Regions from separate parts of the Homo sapiens genome. Here all the other regions are linked to region 2. The links are contacts of gene promoters, found by promoter capture Hi-C in human tissues and cell types (Jung and others, 2019). All regions are on one chromosome and are shown on one strand. Each heading gives the region's core, a stretch centred on a gene start or on the middle of the fragment in contact. The rest is flanking DNA. Distances are from core to core; before and after follow the strand shown.

Region 1 (3,011 bases), core at 150-2,649, 780 kb before region 2:
CTTCAGTCTCCCAGGTGATGTAGTTTTTATGGTGTTATCAGTTTAAAAAATTTCCTCATAGAACGTATGCTTATAATAATCTAAATTCCAGTAAATAATATGACAGAAAAAGCATTTGGAAATATGGAATAGGAATTTTGATGACCACGTCTTGCTATGGAAAGTTAAACCAGCTCCTGGGCGAGCATGTTAATGAAGAAAGCTGTTAACTGTTATATTTTTATTCAGCAAAACAGCCATTAAATATTGTTTGTTTATAGTACTCCACCTTATTCAAAAAGGAATTTGAGGCCAAACATGTAGTAAAAGAGCATTTAAGATATGAGTAGTTTGAAAAAGGAAATTATATTTATCACATTAGCACAGGGTAGGGACATAAAAAATATCAAAATCCATGTGTCAGGCTTTTAATAAACAAATAAAAATTCAGTTTCGAGGTGTATCACATGTCTTCTGAATGGAATCCTAGAAATAAAATACGTATTTTGCTTTCTTTGTTGAAATAGAAAAGTTTAAGCTATATGGTTAAAAAGAATAAATATATGTCATTTACATATAAAATATATGCAATGTAATATGCATAACATAATTATTATATGTAGATATATAATTGTAGTACATATAAATATTGTACTATATTTAATTTATGTATGAAATATATATTTTAAATAATATATTTAATTAATATAATTAATATATTAATATATTTTCATTACTCATTTGCTTATCATATATCTATAAATGTAGCATTTTGAAATTAATTTGGCTTATAAACATATTTATAACTATTTAAATAATATAGGACTTTATTTTAGACAAAATATTAATTTTTCCAGAGTGACCTTATACAACTGCCATTCTCAAACCCTGATATTTGTGCTTATAACTTTTTTCATGACTTTATAATTTTTTCATTAGGTTTCTTAAAAATTGAATGTAGCTCCCCTGTTTCAAAGTATGGCCACATCATGGGGTCTCCTGGGCTTTAAATCACTTTCTGAATGTGGATGGGGTGTGTCTACTTATTCGTAGTTGGATTTATCTGAGAAAAACCTTTGTAGGAGCTAAACATATATATATTTTTTACATACCATATACAGATGATCATATTACATAGGACACATGTGATAAATTAATAAGGAGAACAAAACTTTAGGACAAAAGTTTAAATAATCTTATGAACATATTTCAGTCATATTTAAAAGCTGGCATAGAGGTGACTAAGTAAAAAAACTTGAATATTTTACAAACCACAATGTATATCTTACATGATCATGCTTATTCTTTAAGACACTTCCACTATGTATAAATGACAGTGAGAAAGGGGGGGAAATATCATATTACCTCTAAGGAGGGAAACCCTCTGTATTATAGTTAGCTGTTTGTTAAGCAAAGAGAGGAGGTTACAATTTATATCTTCCTGATGAAAAGATAAACTCAAGATTCCAAGGGAAAGAAGCTTAATTTTTATTCTTTTACATTTTGAAACTACATGTTGGAAGAAGTGCAGTGGGGTTTTTTTTTCTTCTGTTTTTGTTTTTGTTTTTGTTTTCTCCAATTTTAAGCAGGCTGTCTTCAGTGGCCAAAGATCAACGCCCTCACCCATTATTCCCAGGCTCCAATTGCTGCTTCCTGCTAGGTTTGCTGTAAAACCAGAAGGATGGACAAGTAGGATTGGCAGCACCCTGGTGTCCTCTTGTTGCTCCTCTATCTGGGGCTGAGCCACATTATTCTTAGAGACTTCCTACAGGAAATGCTCAAAATTTTAGGAGAGCCAAGACATCCACACATAACTCTGCCCTCTGTTTTGATTATATAGAATTTGTTTTCTGAACTTCAGAACCTAGTTCAAGAGATTGCTTCAAGTCATGCACGTAAAGGCTGAATTCTCTTCATAAAAGCCTTTTCAGTTTTTCTTTGTGAAGCTTTAGGCTAGGGATTACCATTCAGGCCACACTCTCTCTCTCCATGTGCTCATTTTTCCTACTCACAGAGCAGAAGCAAATTTTCCTGCATTAAGAGCAGAAAAGAAAACAAGATTTTGGAGATTCTGACTTATTAAAATCTTGAACTCTTCAAACTGTCTCTTCTGAATTGTTCATCAGGCTGAAAAATACTGATTATGGATAAGAAAATCAAAAGAGGAAACTGGAGCTTGAGGGCTGGTTTTGAGGAGTGTGGTTTGGGCATGGCTATGCCCATTTTAGCATTTCATTTTCACCTTCAGCACTTGCCTTGTTTCTAAGCTTGCCACTTCCGTGGGTCAACATTTATTGTGCAGTTACTATGTGCACATTTATATGACATTCTGGGCACAAGTTTTGTCAAGCAGCAATCTGTCTGACCTTTCCTTAATCCTTTACACTACCAAAGTTTTTCTATATTAAATGCCTACTATGGATTGCTCCTCAAGCAAAAAAGTATTTTGATAAACGTGATCATTTTCATGAGGACTGTGGTACCGTAAACCAAAGGAATGATCCAAATGGTAGAAGTTTATGATATTGAGGGTGATAACTAATTTAAGCTAAGTCAAACTTCAGCTTTTTTCCTGTTGAAATACTCAGAGAACTTTCTATCAAGCCCCTCTTGATTTTGACCAAGGAAAGTACAAATTATTAACCAGTCAAAGAACACTGGGTCTTTGTCCCATGTTCCTAATTATTCCTTGGTTAAGGTATCCTCTTCTATCATTGTTATCAATTGGACAGGAAGGTAACATTTAAAAAAATAGTGCCTTTAATAAAATTAATTAAATTAATCCTCATGCTAGTGCTTCTCCAACTTATTGAGGTGAAAATCTATCCCAAAGTTCTGATGCCCTTTATAGCACACCAGAAAATATTACATCATATGAAGTAGGAACATTTTTATCACAGCAGAAGTCTGACTATATATGAGTTTTACATCTATAGCCTTGAACTTATGAGTCCATGGTAACAAATATTCTTGTGCTAAGTTTTTAAGTTAATGTCTTCCTGCTGGTTATTTATTCTGTCCTTTGCTAGCAG
Region 2 (2,700 bases), core at 98-2,597:
TAAGCCAAGCGCAAGATAAAAATATGCAGGACTTGTGGTAGGTTCTCGATACCATGTTATTCATTTACCGCTAGCCAGATCTCCCAAAAGTAGCAACGGCTGTTTCTAAAAACCTCATAGATGGTCAAACGAAAAGACGTGCAAAAAATCCTGATGGCTGCCAAGGGGATGGCAAAACCGCAGAGGCTACGTGCTCCCCACCATCGGAGTAGCTGCCCTCGGAGCTGACAGCGCAAACGCCGTTTACAACCCCGGCTCACTGCCAGGCGGCGGGTGAGCTCGGCTTCCCTCTCACTCCGCTCCGGAGGAGACGGAACACAGAAAAGAACAGGATCTTCCTTGTTCGTGAAGGTCCTCCGCTTTCTCCTAGACGACGGGATTTAGTACCGCCTGGGGCCAAACACCAGCTTGGGCAGCAAAACAAAGGCGCCTCCATTCCAGAAGAGCTGCCGGGCTGCAAGAAAACTACTCTGGGCCCTCAGTGCGCCGGTCCCCTTTGTTTCGTGTCCCGGTCGCAGAGGAGAAGGAAGAGGGAAGACTGCGCGGGAGAGACGCAGGCAGCGGGAGGTTGGGGGCCAGGGTGGGAAAGAAGAGGGGAACGACAGCCTGTGTGTGGTGTGTGTGTTGGGGTGGCGGTAGGAGTTGCAGCGACTTTGTTATTTGCTTCCAAACACAGACTCCACGAGACCGCACTGCAGCCAGTGCGGTTGTCTGGGGGACCCCGCCGACAACCCGTGCCTTTGCCCGGCTCCTGGGGCCCCACCGAGGGGCGGGAGGGCAGGGCGGTCCCGCGGTTTACTTACGCTCTTATCCAGCTCGATCTTCACCTTCTTCTGGGAGATGCTCTTCTGGATCCTCTTGCTGAAGCTGGCGTTGCCTGCCGCCCGGCCGCACCGCTCACCATCCTCCCGCAGGCAGCACAGTTGCCCGGGGCCCGGCCCGGCCGCCCCCGGGGGCCCAGCCGCTGAGACCGCCCCCGCGCCCGGCACCTCAGCCCCGGTGCCCGCGCCGGTCCCGTTCCCCGCCGAGGCGGCGGCGGCCGCGGCAGCGACCACTGCGGCCACTGCGGCGGCCGCATCCCCGCCGCGGCTCATCTCGTCAGGCGTGAAGCCGTTCATGTCTCCGAGCTCCCGAGGCCGGCGCTGACAGAAATCCCCTCTCTCCTGGCCGCTCCGCCTCTCTCCGCTCCGGCAGCGGCAATTCACTCTGCACACCAAGTTAGACAGCGGCACGGCCAAACACCAACTGTCCCGGGCCTGCTGGTCTCTGCTGGCACCGAAACAGTGGACAGTGCTGAGGGCCGGGACGCAGACTCGAGCGTCTCCTGGAGCGGGGACCCCGCTCACTGTCACATGGGGACTTCAGCAGTTGGACCGCTACGCCTCCGCCTCCCTCCGGCCCCGGGACCTGCGCAAGCGCGACGCGCCCCCTCCCGTCCCGCCCCTTTCTTTCTGCCGCGCGGCCCCATGGGAATTGTAGTTCTCTGCTGCAGAGTCAACCTGAGCTCCGCCCTGACCCCGCGCCATGAGGGACGGAGGAACTACTAATCCTAGCATGCATAGCGCGGCCACGGACCCACTTTTTTTTTTTTTTTTTTTTTTCAGTACCGGGAAAACAGGAGCGTGTGATTGGGGTTTACAGTGTTTTCTCTCGCTCTCTCTGTTTCTAGGGAATTCGGGCTGTGTTTAGCTGCTGGAATATCGTAGAATTGGTTTTCAGAGAAGTTCCTCGACTCCTGAGGCGAAACATAAAGGGATGGGAGTGGTGTGGGAAGTGATCGTGTGGGGAAAAAAAAGTTTCGAGCCCGTTTCGCATTTGTGGAGACAGAGTTTTTGGTGTGACCACTCTTTTGTGGGAAACCCAAACCAAGGAGAACTCAGGAGAATTGGCGCTCTTCGGTCCTGGAGGTTCCGCAGCTAACATCCCGGCTTGACCAACTATCGAGGCCGCAAATTAATAGGGCACCTCCTGGGAGGAAAACGCCCATCCTGACTTCTCAACTGTGACAGGTCCCCCTCACAAACGCCTTGCGGGGGGGTGGGGGGGCGTTTCTAAACACTTGCATGTTCTTACAAGGGAAATGTTTTTATTCTTGGGCGCACCAAGTTGGCCGCCTCCTGAGGTGGAGTACGGACCAGTTGACAACAGGGCTCCTTTTCACCTCCACGCCCAACCTTTTCCATTTCTCCTCAAACGGTTTTGGAGAAGGGCGGAGTCATATCATTTTAAAGGAAACTTGGAACCTCACCAATACAAACGCTGGTCGAATGTTCCCAGAAACTTCCCTGCATTAGCTCTACCGGGCGCGGGGAGCAGAAAGCGCATTTCCTGAGTCCTGAAAAGCGCGTGCGCGCCTGTGTGCTGCCGGCGTTTGGGCGCGCCTGCTTGTATGTATGTGTTCGCGGGCGCGCGCGTGTGTACGTGTGTGTGCGCGCGTACGCGTGTATGTTCCTGCGCGCTTGCGGGGACGTGCTTGTGGAGGGCGGAGAGAGGGATGGGCGTGGCTAATATGAAAGCTGCATCTTTACTAGTTAGCTACCATGCGTCATTATTTATCAAAAGATATATGCTGCTTAAACACAAATACGTTTTAAAATATATTTTAGGCAGTAGGGTTTTGGGTTTTTTTTTTGCAAGTTCTTTTGGTGAGTAAATTTAGTGATAAATGATTTTTTTTTCTTTTGAGACAGTTTGCTCTGT
Region 3 (2,704 bases), core at 190-2,689, 900 kb before region 2:
ATGAAGGAACCAAAATAATAGTTATCATTTAAAGAGGGCGAGAGGGATGAGTACGAAACTACCTTTTATTGTAAACTACCTACTATGGGTTAAGTTCCATAAATGTTATCCCTACTAAGTCCCATGGAATAAGAATTATTATCCGTTATTTTACTAATGAGAAGAATGAGGATCAGAAATCACAGGCTAATCAGATTCCGTGTTGGGGTTTGATGCTGATCTTTCTTCACATCAAAGCCTGTGTGCTTTCCACAAGAACAGCAGTAGCCTGAAAGAGCAGCTGCAGCTGGGACCAACGATGGAGGTAATAAACAGTGACGGGGTAAAAAGAGATGAGAACCAGTGGTGAAGAAACAGATGGTAAATTGCTTTTGTCATCCATGGGCTCCAGCGGTTCTGGGAATATGGTTTGTGGGTTAAGAATAAAAGCTTTGGACTCAGATAGAACTGAGTTTGAATCCTAAATCTTCCATTTTTCCAGCTTTGACTTCTCAGGCAAATTTGCTTAACCTCTCTGGACCACTATTTCTTTAGTAATGGTCTTCAGTCTGTATTACACTGAGCCCTAAGGTAATAATAATAATAATAATTCTTAAACTGAGTACATAAACTCAAACACACATCTTTTTCAAATTTACATGCCTGGATTCCACAACTAGGAGATTTGTAGTTACAAAAAAATTGTTAGAGGAATAAAAATAACCCTTGAATACTTTTTAGCCAGGTTTACAAATTTTTAATATTTTGCCACATCACCTTATTGTTCCATCTGTATAGACATAGACGTTACTGTTTTGCTGAACCATTTTGGAGTAGGTTGCATACATCACACCATCACACTTCAGTGTGTGTTCCCTAAGAATGAGGATATACTTCTGTATAGCCATTTCACAGTTATCAAGTTTAGGAAATTTAACATTGATACTATGATACCATATTTTTATCCAATCTTCAGCCCATATATCTAGTTTCTTATTTATCTCAATAATGTGCGACATAGCAATTTTTTTCCAATCCTGTTGACATACTGCATTTCGGTGGTATTGTTTTTAGCCTCTTTTAATCCAAAACTGTTCTTCCACCTTTTTTCTTTTCTTTTCTTTTTTTTTTTTTTAACTTTTATGACATTGGCATTATTGATTTATTTTTTAGGAACAGAGTTTTGCTCCGTCACTCAGGTTGGAGTGCAGTAGTGTAATCTTAGTTCACTGGAACCTCCAATTCCTGGCTTCAAGTGATCCTCCTGCCTCAGCCGCCTAAGTAGCTAGGACTACAGGCACATGCCACCACACTCATCTAATTTTTAATTTTTTATAGAGACAGGGTCTCGCTATGTTGCCCGGGCTGTCCTCAAGCAATCCTCTTGGCCTTGCTCTCCCAAAGCACTGAGATTAGAGGCATGAGCCACCATTCCCAGCCTGGCATTGGTGTTTTTGAAGGAAAATATTCTGTTATTTTACAGACTGCCTTTTGAGTTTCTCTGATATTCCCTATTAAATTCAGATTATGGATTTTTGGCTGGAATACTATATAATGATGTTGTGTCCTCAGGGCATCACATCTAGAGGCATATGATGTGCATTTGCCTCTTATTTGTAAATGTTAATTTTCATCATTTGGTTAAGGTTTTGTCTTATTTCTTAATTTTTTCTTGTAATTAATGACTGATATGTGGGAAGATACTTTGGGATTCTGTAAGTATTCCATTCTTTGTCAAACTCCAGATTCAACAACATCCATTGATAATTCTTGCCTAAATTATTTTTTCTCTGATGGTAAAATGATAATTTTTCTAACTACATTATTCTTTCTATCTTCTTTAATTAGAATTCTACTCTAAAAAAGAGCTTTCCTTCTCCTTTATGTTTTTATTGATCATCATCAGTGTAGACTCACAGATTCTTTTTTTATGTAATGGATTATACAGTTGGTCCTCAGTATTTGTGGATCTGCATCCAGTGTCATCCAACCACAATTGAAACTATTTGGAAAAAAATAGAAAGTAACAGTACAACAATAAATAATAATACAAATTTTAGAATACAGTATAACAACTATTTACATAGCATTTACATCTTATTGGATGTTATAAGTAATCTAGAGATGATTTAAAGTATACAGGAGGATGTATACTATGCCATTTTATACAAGGGACTTGAGCATTCATGGATTTTGGTATCTGGGGGAGGTGACATGAGGGGGTGATCCTGGAACCAGTCTACTGCAAATACTAAGGAGCAATTAATTCATTACTGTCATTTTTATTTTGATGTTCCAGGTTTGGCCAATAGAAGCCTCCTTCAAATTAGCTCCTAATGTCCTTTTGACGTTATCCCATTGCTTTTGTTTTGTTTTGATTTGCTATTAGTTCACTGAACACTCATAATCCAAGTTTAGGAAACATTGCCTTAGGAGTTTCTTTGTAGCCCCTAAGGGGGTCCCAAGTAAACTGGAAAGGTACAAGTTGAGAAGAAGATGCACCTTTTCACCATATTAGTGTATAGCAGAACTTTGATGAGTACCTCCTATAGGTAAATCCCCCAAATACATAATATATATAAGATTTTATATCTATTTAAATTAAGATTAAAATTTATTGACCAGTTACCAGATGAAATCAGGAAAAATAAATCAAGTAATTGCTATGCAAGTGTTTCAGCCACATTTTAATGCTTGAACATTGGATCTTTGAGGCAATAAGAAG
Region 4 (2,796 bases), core at 191-2,690, 730 kb before region 2:
CATAGATAATCCAGAGATACAGGAGAATTCGTGGAAAGTTAGAAAAAATCGGGCAGAGAACAAAGTATAACTGTAAACATTTTATTGTTTTAGATATTTAGTGTAATGGGGAATTCTAAAATAACATCTGAGTCATTATCTTCGAAATATTTCTAACTTATTTCTGTACTGAAAACCATTATTACTTTGAAGATTGTAGGTAACATGAAACAGTAGGAGTTATTTCTAACACTAATCAATGACTGATGAGAAGGCTCCATCCTGTTCAAGATTTCACCTTCCACAGGTTCCTATGGTGATTCACCCAAGATTAATGAGGCATTTTCCACAGAAACTGTTAGACTATGTTTTCGCAAATTTCTGAGATAGGTTGTGTGTGGCGGTGGGGTGCAGGAGGGTGCGCACCCCTGTCTGTCTCAGAATGTTTATGCACAAACATTCACAATAACTATCTTGAGAAGCCTCACAAGAATCTGATTTTCTTTCTGGCTATTTGTGAAATGTTTTGTTACATCGTAAGGTGTGAGGAAACTTTTAACGACAGAGAAGCTAGGTGCTCATCATATGGCCAGCAACAAACCCCCCTTTTGTTTATTTGGCTTTATGAATCTAAATACTTATGATTGTCTCAAGACTCGAGTAATCAAATAACAGTCTTCATTTTCTCTCATTGATAAAATTATCCAGCAGATCTAAAGAGATCATCTAAAGCGATAAAAAATACTGTTATTATGCAATTGAACCACCTAGACTAATAGGATGTTTGGTGTGTGAAATCTAACAGCAAAATAGATTTAAATTAAAATGAAGTTTCTCACTACTATAATATTCAGGAAATTTTCTAATATTACGCTAGAAAAAGTTCCTGCTATGAGAATATTTCTGAATATGAAATCTCTTTTTTTAAAAAAATTCCTGTACCTTAAGTTCTAAGAGCAATATTAATCTTTGCTGGAAATTATTTTCATTTTATTTGGAATAATTTTTTCAATACATATTCTCTTTTTGCTTTCTATGAAATAAATCTATTACCTGAAAGTTTGGTACATTTCAAGTTGAGGCATGAAACTGAGATTAATTTCTCTTAAGAAGCCTTTGCCCCCACCCCCACTGCCCAGTTTTGTTGCTCTAATTAATGATAAAAAAAAACAAGTTTCCCATGTTTTCATTGATGTAGATTACATACTTGCTTATTTTTAAATTATTCTACCTATAAACTTTGCTGGCTTGAGATCTGTGACATATGATCTTAACTCATCCTTTTATCTTCTAACCAGGATGGAAAAGTTTTTCTTTTGCTCCTTATAACAGTGGTGGTAAATCCAAAATAAGCAAGAATTCTGGTTTCTAAGAAAACGTTGCTCATGAGCCTTCCTACTGCATCTAACTAGGATAGGCTTTCAGTGTTATAAAGTTACCTCTATTTCTCAATAAGTCTCATCTTTCATAGAGTCAAGAAATTCCATTGTTGCCAGACATCTTAAATACCAACAAATCCAAACATTTTATTCTTCAATTAATGAACTGGGATTTAAAGATCTTAAGTCACTTGCCAGTATCCTACAAATGGGTCAGAACAGAGAACAGAATAGAATATAGATTTTCAAGCTTACATTTCTGTGCTCTTTTCACTACTTCATGTGGCTTCTTTTGAAACCTAAATCATCTTATCTGTGGTTAGTCCTTATAAATGAATTAGAGGTGATTAGGAAATTTTAATATTTTTAATATTTATTTGATTATCTTAGCCATTGAAATGTTACATCTTGTCCCACAATCAATAGGTGCAGGGTAGATTAGGTTATAATCTGTGGCAATGTTTACTGACTTTCTGAGCCCCAAATATCTCTTTTTTAAAAAACAGAGTCAGCCTCTGTCCCCCAGAATGGAGTGCAGTGACGTGATTATGGCTCACTGCAGACTCGACCTCCTAGGCTCAAGTGATCCTCCCACCGCAGTCTCCCCAGTTGCTGGGACTACAGGCACGTGCCACTATGCCCGGCTAATTTTTTATTTATTTTAATTTTTTTGTAGAGGCAGGGCCTCATTATGCTGCATAGGGTGGCCCAAATAATGTCTTGTGGGGAGAAAAGAAATAACTAATTTTCCCTGGGTAGAGTTAATTGTACAAATTTCTACAAATTCCTAGGGTAAAGAAGAATTTTGGTTCACTTTAGTTTCTTTCTCTCCCGCCTTGCCTCCCTTACTCCCTCTCTTTTCATTTCAGTTGACTTTCTGACACCAAAATATTCACTTCTTGAAAGATAAGACACTTTGACCCAAATGGGAGCCAGCTAGCTTGAGTTGATGGCCCCATAAAGACTCTCAGAATACCAGAAACAGAAAGTACCTTGGAGATCATCTGGCACGCACTTTTTACTTTACTGGTGAATTCCAGAGACATGACCTGGTTTGTCAAGGCCACAGGTATTGGGAGCCAGAGCTAGAGCCTGGGATCCCTACTTCTCTTTCTATCACATGATGATATAATGAGGTAGTCAATATGCACTTTTGTCCTAGATAAGAAGAAGAAATAAAGAAAATAAATAATGAACTATACCTATTTTTTTGAGCTTATCTGGAAACATGGATTCAGATATTTATGTGCAGTCAGTCATATTTACACACATGGGTGCAAATGTGGAAACTTTCGAATTTCATTAGATGTCATTTTTATAGCATTTTTTGATGATCATAGCAAAAATTTAATGATCTCCTTCCATAATGGTAAATATAATAAAGTACTATGGAAAGTTTTCATGTACAGAACATCCCTGTTATTGAACTGGTTATAAT
Region 5 (3,053 bases), core at 191-2,690, 920 kb before region 2:
TTACTAGCTTTAAAAAGCCTGCTATGACTACATAATATTTGATGCAAACCCCATAGTAACCAAAATAAAAAGTATAGTAAATAAACAAAAAAAAGAAAAAAATCAAAGCATTCTACTACAATCATCAAATCACAAAGACAACAAACAAGAGAAAAACAGGAGAAACAGAAAGCAAATAGAAAACAATGAATAAAATGGAAACAATTAAGTACTTAATTATTAAAAATTATTACTTTAAATTTTTAATAATTAAGGGCTCTCAGTAGACATGGAATGGCTGAAATGGATAATAAAAACAACACTCAACTATACGCTATCTACAAGAGACTCTAACATTTAAGGACACACGTAGGCTAAAAGTGAAGGGATTGAGAAAGATATTCCATGCAAACTATAACCAAAAGAGAGCAGGGTGGCTATCTATATCAGACAAAATAGACTTTAAGTCGACAACTGTCAAAAGAGACAAAGAAGGCATTATATAATAGTAAAAGGGTCAATTCAATAGAAAGATACAACAACTAAAAATACATATGCACCCAACATCAAAGCACCTTAAAATATACAGTGAACATTGACAGATTTGAAGGAAGAAATAGATATCGATACAATATAGAAGGAGACTTTGATACATCACTCTCTATAATGTACAGGTCATCCAGACAGAATGCCAACAGCAAATATTGATAGAATTGGAGGAAGAAATAGATATCAATACAATACAGAAGGAGACTTTGATACGTCACTGTCTATAATGTACTGGTCATCCGGACAGAATACCAACAAGTAAATTGCAAACTATACAACACTATAGACCAAAGACCTAACATGCATATACAGAACATGAGACCCAACCATAGCAAAATAATCATTCTTCTCAAAAGGACATGAAACATTCTCTATAACTGATCACAGCCTAGGTCACAAAACAAGTCTTAACAAATTTAAGAAGACTAAAAACATTCTAAACATTTTGTCTGATCACGAGGGAATGAAACTAGAAATCAATAATAGAAAGAAAATGGAAAAATTCACAAATACAGGGGAATTAAATAACATACTATTAAATAATACTGGGTCAAAGAATAAATCAAAACAGAAATTATAAAATATCTCAAGACAAACAATAATAAAAACACAGTATACCCAAACATATAGGATGCAGTAAAAGCAGAATAAGAGAAGTGTTTATAGCAATAAATTCATTAAGAAGAAGAAAGAGGCAGGACACAGTGGCTCACGCCTATAATCCTAGCACTTTTGGGGGCTGAGGCAGGCGGGTCACTAGGTCAAGAGATTGAGACCATCCTGGCTAACATGGTGAAACCCCATCTCTACAAAAAATACAAAAATTAGCTGAGCATGGTGGTGCGTGGCTCTAGTCCCACCTACTTGGGACTCCCACCTACTCGGGAGGCTGAGGCAGGAGAATCACTTGAACCCGGGAGGCGGAGGTTGCAGTAAGCCAAGATCATCACGCCACTGCACTCCAGCCTGGTGACAGAGCAAGACTCTGTCTCAAAGAAAAAAAAAAAAAGGTCTCAATAAAACAACCTAACTTTACACCTCAAGGAACTAGAAAAAGAACAAACTAAATCCAAAATTAGCAGAAGGAAGAAAATAATAAAGATTAGATTAGAAATAAATGAAATAGAAAATTGAAAAACAATTTTAAAAATTGACAAAACTAAAAGTTCCTCTTTTGAAAAGACAAACTAAATCAACAAATCCTTGGCTAGACTTTAAAAATAGAAGACTCAAACAAAATCAGAAATGAAAGAGGACACAATTGATCCCACAGATATAAAAAGTATCATAAGGGACTATTATGAACAATTATATGCCATCAAATTGGACAATCTAAAAAAAAATGGGTAAATTCCTAGAAAAATATAACTTACCAAGACTGAATCAAGAAGAAATAGAATGCTTGAATAGACAAATAACAAAAAAGGAGATTGATGGAATAATCAAAAAATTCCCAACAAAGAAAAGCCAAGAGCCAGATACATTCTAGCAAACATTTAAAGAAAAATTAATACAAAACCTTATTAAACATATCTAAAAAAAAAAAAAAAAGAAGAGGGAACACTTCCAAAGTCATTCTGAGGCCTGCATCACCCTGATACCAAAGCCAGACAAATACACTACAAGAAAACTACAGTCTAATACATTTGATGAATATAGACGTAAAAATCCTCAATGAAATGTTAGCAAACCAAACACAACAGCACATTAAAAGAATCATATACCATGACCAAGTAGGATTTTTCATTGTGATGCAAGGATGGTTCAACATATGACAACCAACCAATGTAATATACTGCATTAATAGAATGAAGGATAAAACTCACATGGGCATCTGCACAGATGCAGAAAAAGCACTTGACAAAATTCGATACTCTTTTGTGATAAAAACTCCCAATAAACTAGGTATGGAAGAACCTTATAGCAAATTAGGTAAAGGAAAAACAAAATAAAGTCCATTTATGAGAAGCCCACAGCTAAGATACTTAAAGATAAAAAACTGAAAGCTTTCCCCATAAGATGAGGAACAAGGCAAGGTTGCCTACTTTAGCCTCTCCTATTCAGCGTAGTATTTTAAGTCCTAGCCAGAATAACTAGGTAAGAAAAATAAATTAAAAACATCCAAATAAAAAGAGAAGAGGTACAATATCTGTTTGCAGATGACATGATCTTAGATGTAGAAAACCTTAGGGACCCCAACAAAAATGTGAGAATAAACAAATTTGCCTTTAAAAAAGAAGGAAATCCTGCCATTTGCAACAACATGGATGAACCTGAAGGACATTATGCTAAGTGAAATAAGCTAAACACAAAAAGACAAATACTGTATTATCTCAATGTATGTGAAATCTAAAATAGTCAAATACATGCAAGCAGAGAATAGAATGGTGGTTGTAAGGGAACATGGGGAGAACAAAATGGGAAGCTGTTGTTCAAAGGGTACAAAGTTTCAGTTAGGCAAAATAAATAAGATCTGCAGGTACAACCCAGTGTCTGTGATTAGCAATATTGTATTCTTAAAATTT

What was found. The method cuts DNA at HindIII sites, captures the fragments that hold promoters and counts their contacts. A contact is called where the count stands out against the background at its distance.
Region 1: a contact is called between a fragment that was not itself captured here and the fragment with the promoter of SAP30 in region 2, in 1 of the 25 tissues and cell types used here (mesenchymal stem cells).
Region 3: a contact is called between a fragment that was not itself captured here and the fragment with the promoter of SAP30 in region 2, in 1 of the 25 tissues and cell types used here (mesenchymal stem cells).
Region 4: a fragment that was not itself captured here is called in contact with the fragment with the promoter of SAP30 in region 2 in 1 of the 25 tissues and cell types used here (heart left ventricle).
Region 5: a contact is called between a fragment that was not itself captured here and the fragment with the promoter of SAP30 in region 2, in 1 of the 25 tissues and cell types used here (mesenchymal stem cells).

What each region holds. Positions count from the first base shown.
Region 1 is chr4:174,151,590-174,154,600 of GRCh38, reverse strand. All of the region lies in intron 1 of LINC02268 (long intergenic non-protein coding RNA 2268), which reads left to right. Among named protein-coding and RNA genes, the nearest start is that of LINC02268, 67 kb to the left of the region's middle. The HindIII fragment of the contact is 4,826 bases long and covers 1-3,011 here.
Region 2 is chr4:173,369,601-173,372,300 of GRCh38, reverse strand. SAP30 (Sin3A associated protein 30) reads right to left here and starts at 1,347. Exons shown (of 4, transcript NM_003864.4): 1 at 804-1,347. The coding sequence starts at 1,118. SAP30-DT (SAP30 divergent transcript) reads left to right here and starts at 1,603. Exons shown (of 4, transcript NR_183973.1): 1 at 1,603-2,009; 2 at 2,691-2,700. RefSeq lists enhancers at 237-536, 240-803, 1,887-2,126 and silencers at 657-1,036, 1,317-1,486. The HindIII fragment of the contact is 15,433 bases long and covers 1-2,700 here.
Region 3 is chr4:174,271,734-174,274,437 of GRCh38, reverse strand. The region is part of intron 1 of FBXO8 (F-box protein 8); the gene reads left to right. Among named protein-coding and RNA genes, the nearest start is that of FBXO8, 11 kb to the left of the region's middle. The HindIII fragment of the contact is 5,625 bases long and covers 1-2,704 here.
Region 4 is chr4:174,101,005-174,103,800 of GRCh38, reverse strand. All of the region lies in intron 2 of LINC02268 (long intergenic non-protein coding RNA 2268), which reads left to right. Among named protein-coding and RNA genes, the nearest start is that of LINC02268, 120 kb to the left of the region's middle. The HindIII fragment of the contact is 5,555 bases long and covers 1-2,796 here.
Region 5 is chr4:174,288,322-174,291,374 of GRCh38, reverse strand. The region is part of intron 1 of CEP44 (centrosomal protein 44); the gene reads right to left. Among named protein-coding and RNA genes, the nearest start is that of CEP44, 5.9 kb to the right of the region's middle. The HindIII fragment of the contact is 6,159 bases long and covers 1-3,053 here.